Linked DNA regions of Homo sapiens: region 1 is linked to region 2. Evidence: promoter capture Hi-C in human tissues and cell types (Jung and others, 2019). All regions are on one chromosome and are shown on one strand. The core of a region is centred on a gene start or on the middle of the fragment in contact, and the rest is flanking DNA. Distances in the headings are between cores, read along the strand shown.

Region 1 (3,386 bases), core at 848-3,347, 850 kb before region 2:
TGCCTCTTTCCAAATTTAGGGTGGGAAACATGACATTCTTTCACTATTTACTCTTTTATGGTTTACTTTAAATTGAAGTAACTCTTATTTTATTCAAATAAATTTCTTTAGGAAAAAAATGCAGATATAAATGAGTTAACTTTTTAGGCAATGTAAGAAAGAGAAGTTACAAAAAGTGGGCTCTGCTATTAGACTGCCTAGGTTCACTCCCAAATTACAAAGATGTGAATCTTTGGTCCGTGTTATTTAAATTCACTGGGACAAGAGTCTCATAGGGTTGTTGTGAAAAGCAAATGAGTCAATAAAGGTAAACTGCTTATCAGACCCTTGCCAGGCACATGGAATGTGCTAAAAAAAAAAAAAAAAAAAGAACTATTATTACACTGATTATAAAGCAGTCTTGTTTTACAATTCCTGCTTTACAACTATTATTGATGTTTCACAAACTCCCACAAATTGAGGTAATTTCTGTAACACCCACACTACCCAATACAATTATATTTGGAATATAAAACATGGTCAGGCGATGTGTTTTTAAAGGGGGATGTCTCACTGAGAGCTGAACTAAATTAGAGTAAGGTACCAAGGTACCAAATTACAAGATACGTGCTTTCAAAAAGCTGCGGATTGGTATTTTATAAATGAGCTCCTAAAAAAAAAAAAAAAAAAAACTGGTTTATATTTACCTGACAACAGTTTAGGTACATTCCTATGCTCTAGTAAAATTATCTAAAATCCTGTGAAAGGCCAGGTGCGGTGGCTCAGGCCTGCAGTCCCAGCACTTTGGAAGGCCAAGGTGGGAGCATCAACTGAGGTCAGGAGTTCAAGACCAGCCTGGCCAACATGGTGAAACGCTGTCTTTATTAAAAATACAAAAATTAGCCAGGCATGGTGGCAGGTGCCTGTAATTCCAGCTACTTGGGAGGCTAAGGCAGGAGAATAGCTTGAACCTGGGAGGCAGAGGTTGCAGTGAGCCAAGATCACACCATTGCACTCCAGTCTGGGCAAGAGTGAAACTGTCTCAAAAATAAATAAATAAATAAAAATAAAATCCTGTAAACTAAAATGGAACTCATCCAAATAGAATGGTACCTTCCTTAAAATGTTGGAAGCTATAAACTACTATTTCCAGGTCTCTCAAAGCTAGATTATCTTTTTAAAATAATGGCTAATAGCTAAGGAACTCAAGATCTCTCCAGCTGGCTCTCTAATCATCAGCTATTTGGGATATCTAAAGTTTCAACTGGAAAGTAATGGACCACTGCCTTCTTGGGGACCAGTTTTAAAATGGCTTGTAAGGGCCGGGTGCAGTGGCTCACGCATACGATCCCAGCACTCTGGGAGGCCAAAGCAGGCAGATTACTTGAGCCCAGGAGTTTGAGACCAGCCTGGGCAACACAGTGAAACCCGATCTCTATCAAGAAAAAAACGCCAGATGTGGTGGTGGTACATGCGTCACTTGAGCCTGGGTGGTAGAGAGTGCAATGAGCTGCGAACACCTAAGCGCACTTCAGCGTGGGCTACAAAGCAAAAGACCCTTTCTCAAAAACATAAAACAAAATAAAATAAAATAAAAATGGCTCTAAGTCAGAGGAGCCACAGGTAAGTTCACAAAATTTAGAAGCCTTGGCTGGGCGTGGTGGCTCATACTTGTAATCCCAGCACTTTGGGAGGCCGGGGCAGGCGGATCACCTGAGGCCAGGAGTTAGAGACCAGCCTGGCTAACATGGTGAAACCCGTCTCTACTAAAAATACAAAAAAATTAGCTGGGCATGGTGATGTATGCCTGTAATCCCAGCTACCTGGGATGCTGAGGCAGGAGAATTGCTTGAACCCGAAAGGCAGAGGATGCAGTGAGCCAAGATCACGCCACTGTACTCCAGCCTGGGACACAGAGCGAGAAACCTTCTCAAAAAAAAAAAAAAAAAAAAAAAAAAAAAAAAAAAGGATTAATTAAACAAATACCAATTAACGACTTACAATTCTCTGAACTAAAAATATTCAGATTTTACTTAAAATATTCTTAAGTTGTGGGAGAGAAATAAATGTTATCCTACTACGCATGCTTCTATTTCATAGGAGCTAGAAAGGGTACATAGCTGAACAGAAATTATATCCAATCCTCCACGTTGTTTAAAGGTTCAAACTTAGGGGAAAAGTGTGTCTGGTCTTTCAAAGTGAAAAAAGGAAGGCCAAGATCAAAAAATCAATCACATACCTCCCAAACTCATCCAATGACTAATCTGTACTACTGATCTATTACTGGTTGGTTTACGGTGGGGACTAAGTGAAAGAGTTTTATAAAAATATATATCCCTGGACTCTACACTGAGGTAACTCCTGTAAAATCAGATTAATAAAGGATTCGTGCACTTTTTAAATTCAGACATTTCTGTAGGAAAACTACATTCACCTTGATGTATCTGAGATACCTTATAGAGAGAAAAAAAAGAATTTGGGAAGCACTTACAGAATGGCAGAAAAAAGTATAACTTAATATAAACTCAAGTGACAAGACAGCCAAAGTGCTGTAGTGGGTAATTTTCTTTAAGTGAAAGGAAGCTGAGAAAGCTTGAGATTGCATAGAAAAGCAATCTGATGACTGGGTGCGATGGCTCACACCTGTAATCCCAGGACTTTGGGAGGCCAAGGCAGTGAATCACCTGAGGTCAGGAGTTCAAGACCAGCCTGACCAACATGGAGAAACCCTGGCTCTAAAAATATAAAATTAGCTGGGCGTGGTGGCGCATGCCTGTAATCCCAGCTACTCGGAAGGCTGAAGCAGGAGAATTGCTTGAACCTGGGAGGCGGAGGTTGCGGTGAGCCGAGATCGCACCATTGCACTCATTACAGCCTGGGCAACAAAAGTGAAACTCCGTCTCAAAAAAAAAAAGAAAAAAAGAAAAGAAAAGAAAAGCAATTTGATGACCTAAAATGACCTATAAAGAAATAAAAACACCACCATCACTTTAAGTCACCTAAAAATAATGACACTCCATGACAAATTATTTTCAACTTAAGTTTCTTACTTCACAGTAAGAATTTTTGATCATGTAGACTATTTAACAATACCACTAAGTAAAAAGAACAGATTTTCCAAGTTATGCAGCAATACCAGAGAGCAGGATTAAATGTTTAAAAATTTTTCATTATCTACTTCCATCACAGAAATTTTCTCTAAGGTCATTTCTATAGCGGTTATAGAGGGTCCACTGCTAAAGTGAGTAAAGATTTTTTCAATATAATGCATATACGTAAAAAACATAGTAAAGCAACTAGAAAACTAGAAATTCAGATAATCCATGTGTTTAAACTTCTTAAAGTTGGTCCAATTTACACATTTAAACCACAGAATTAAACAAAAGGCCTCTAAAATAGTTCTCAAA
Region 2 (3,389 bases), core at 784-3,283:
CTCGTCGGAGCGGGAGAAGCGGCGATCACAGGACTCCACTGGGCAAGCGTAAGGGCGTTCGTGGGGGGGCGTCTTGCTGGGCCGGTTGGGGTACTTGCGCATGCGGCTGGGTTTGATGAGCTGGGACTGGTAGCTGGTATTGAGGGCCTTCAGGTCCTGGGAGCCCGACTGAGTGGCAAAGGCCTTAATAGTAGACAGAGGGGTTAGCGAAGGCTGCTGGGTGCGGCTCTCCAGGCCCTGGAAGGGCTTCTGGTCTGGGGTGCCCAGGCCCAGATCCCCCTGCTGCTGTGGAAACAGGTAGTCGGGGATCATGGGAACCTGGAAGCCACCCTTGGCGGCAGGGTAGGCAGGAGGCGGGTACTGGAGCGCTGTCCCTGCCGAGCCCGGGAAGGCCTGGCTTTGTGGCTCAGGGAAAATGTCAGTGTTCGGCGTGGGGAAGGTGGGTGCCGCTGAGTAAATGGGACTGCTGTCGTTGGATGGCACTGCGCAGCTCAGGGGTGGGCTCTGGGAGGCGGAGGCGGAGGAGGCCGCTGGAGATGGTGCTGAGGACGAGGAGGCCGGTGGGTTGGTCATGCTCACTAGGCCACTGACCAAGCTGAAGAGGGGCTCGGGCCACAAGGTGTTGCCACTGTTGGGTGCAGGCTCCAGGGAAAAGCGGCCAGTATAGGTGATGGGGGGCAGTCGAGTGGTTTGGCTGGGGTAACTGGTCTCCACCAGCACCTTCTCGTTGTTCAGAGAGATGTCAGGAAAAGACTCTGGCAGGAGAGAGAGAAGCGGGAGGCCTGGTTACTGGAAAGCAATCACTGGAGGACGAGGACGACCCGAGCTGCCAGGCAAGAGACCGGGCCGGCTACCATTGACTCCCGAGGTAGTTAATAATTGATAGCAGCACATTGCAATGTTCCTGGACCCGCACCAGTGGCAGAGCCCATTTCAACAACAGCTGACGCAAATACGGAGAATCCCCCTCCACTGCAGCTCGCAGCGCTCCGCAGCGGCGGCTGTGCGGGCGAGGGATTCCCGCCAGCACCCCCATGGCCGCGGCTAGTGCGCGCCCCCAAACCCGGGCTGCCGGGACATCCACGGCCAAGGATCACGGTCCTTCCTTGGGGACAGGCGGCAAGCAAGGCAAGGCAAGTCTTACTGGAGGTGGGGGGCGCAGCCCCGCTCATCAAAACAAGCCCTCCCCCTCCACCCACCCACGCAGCTCCAGAGCTCTCCATCCAAAACAAAAGCTCGGTCCTCTGCGCTCCGCTAGGGATGAGGGCAGGGGGTGGGCTGTGTGGGGTTCCTTGGCATCCCTCTAACACATGACTCTGGGGATGCGAGGAATGAAAGGGAAACCCGGCTCTCATTCTAAGATCCAGGAGCACTCCTGCGGTGAAGGACAGGACGCCAGGATGGTGGCGAAAGGGTTCCCCCTCGGCGTAGGCCACTGCTTACCTGCGGTCAGGTGCTCGTAGGGCTGCTCGCCCGTGTCCGCCTGAGGGTTGAAGGTGCTGCTGCTGCTGCTGCTGTTGCTGCCGCCCCCGCCGCCTCCACCGCCCCCGCTGCTGCTGCTGCTGCTGTTGCTGCCGCTGCCCTCTGGGGCCCCGGCGGCGCCGAGGAACTGGGGAGCCCCGTTGCTCAGCAGCATCATCTCCTCCAGCTTAGGGTAGTTGTCCATGGTGGGCGAGTGAGGAAAGGATCCGAACGGGTCAGAGATCTGCAGCGGGGACATCAGCTGCATCTCGGCCTTGGCCGCGGCCATCCTGGACGAGCAGGCTGGAGAGCTGGTGTCGGGGCGGGGGGGTGCAGCCCGGGGCTGGAGCTGCAGGGGACACAGTTGCGGGGGCCTGGCCGGGTTACATGCGGGGCGCGGGGAACACTGAGAAGCGTGCAGGCGGCGACCCCGACTCGCCCTGGGCGCGGGCGGGCGTGGACGCGCCGCGGCTGCGGAGGCTGGGGCAGGGGCCGGTCCTGCGGCGGCGGAAGCTGGCTGCGGCGGCGGATGGCGGCGGCGGCTCCCCAAGTTCTGCGCGCTGGGATCTCTCGCGACTCCCCGGATCCGCCTCTATTTGAAGGGTCTGGAACGGCACGGGTCCGCCTCCGTCGTGACGTACATGGCCATATATGGGAAGCAGGAAGCCCTAATATGGCAGGACCGGCCGGGAGGACCCGGAGTGACGTGAAGCCCCCCATCCGACAGCGCCCGGCACCTCCATCCTGCACCCTAGGGCCCGCGCCCGCGCCCGCATCCCAGGCGCCCAGGCTTCGGGGAAGCCTAGAGCTCTAGCCGCCGCCGGGGCCTCCGGGACCCGCGCAGCTCCGGAGTTCCCGCGTTGCCCCTCCCTCCGCCTTCTTCCCTCCTCCCAGAGCCGGAAGCGGCCGGGCCATATCGGGCCACTCCAAATAAGGTGCTGCCCAAATAAGGGTTGTTCCGGCGGGGGATCCTTCCTGCTCCTTATATGGCATTTCCGGGTCGCAGCTGGTTGCTCCCTCGCTCCCTCCCTCCTCCCTGGTTCCAAGCCGGGAGCCCGAGCGCTCGCGGGATCCGGGGACGCCCAGGCGGGGAGGGCTCGTGGCGTGTGGCGCTGGGCGCGCGGCTGCTCAGGCGGCTCCTAGGCGTGAACTAGGCTGGGGAAGCCCAGACCCAGAGCGGGGGCGAGGGCGAGTCGGGCCGGGGTTCTATCGCTGTCATCCAGGGCCCGCCCGCCCACCTCAGGGACCGTGAGAGCGAACCGGGAGTGCGGGGGAGGAGCGGCTGGGCCCGCCTGGGCAGGGGCCGCCCAGGAGAGGCGGGGCCTTGACCCCGGGCCTCGATCTATGGCACGGTGTCTTTCCGGGTGTCGCTGGGAAATTGAGGATAGGAAGTCACGGCCACTTGGTTCTTGGGACACTGTATAGCAGTGAGCTGCCTTGCCTCTGCCACCTGTCGGTGGGATGGGGCTGCTGGTGCCTGGGGTCCCCTGTGCTCCCCCGGAACCGAAAGGCTGTTCCCTAGTCCCCGCCGGCAAAGAGCCCACCTTTGGGGGACCGAAGTGGGGAAGCTGATTGCCCCAAGAGAGGCCTGATTCTTGTTCTCACCAGGAGATAATGGTCCTTGTGGTGAGGGGTCACTTTCCCCCCTTTATCCAGTCCAGGTGGAGGGCCGGCCCACACTGCGGGAATCCGAAAGAGGGGCTTCCCTATGGGCTGTCTGGGGACCCCGGGCTGGGCGCGAAGAGAGGACCGGCTTGGCGGCTCGGTGCTGCCCCCTGGAGGTTCCCTCTCCACTCCCAGCCCCGGACTCCGGCCGCGCGGGCTCTTCCGCCGCCTCCTCGCTCCTCCTCCCGGATGCGGCGCTGGGCGCGGAGCCAGGCCGGGGGAGCCTTCGACGCAGTGAGCACGAACTGAGCAGGCGCTGCAGC

Evidence for each region. Contacts are between HindIII fragments. The study calls those that stand out against the background at their distance.
Region 1: a fragment that was not itself captured here is called in contact with the fragment with the promoter of EGR1 in region 2 in 1 of the 25 tissues and cell types used here (dorsolateral prefrontal cortex).

The regions. Positions count from the first base shown.
Region 1 is chr5:139,310,311-139,313,696 of GRCh38, reverse strand. The region is part of intron 2 of MATR3 (matrin 3); the gene reads right to left. Among named protein-coding and RNA genes, the nearest start is that of MATR3, 18 kb to the right of the region's middle. The HindIII fragment of the contact is 5,043 bases long and covers 1-3,386 here.
Region 2 is chr5:138,464,123-138,467,511 of GRCh38, reverse strand. It overlaps EGR1 (early growth response 1), which reads right to left and starts at 2,033. Exons shown (of 2, transcript NM_001964.3): 1 at 1,444-2,033; 2 at 1-755. The coding sequence starts at 1,750. RefSeq lists silencers at 1,780-1,989, 2,080-2,429, 2,440-2,839, 3,160-3,389 and enhancers at 1,295-2,134, 2,135-2,975, 2,048-3,247. The HindIII fragment of the contact is 10,830 bases long and covers 1-3,389 here.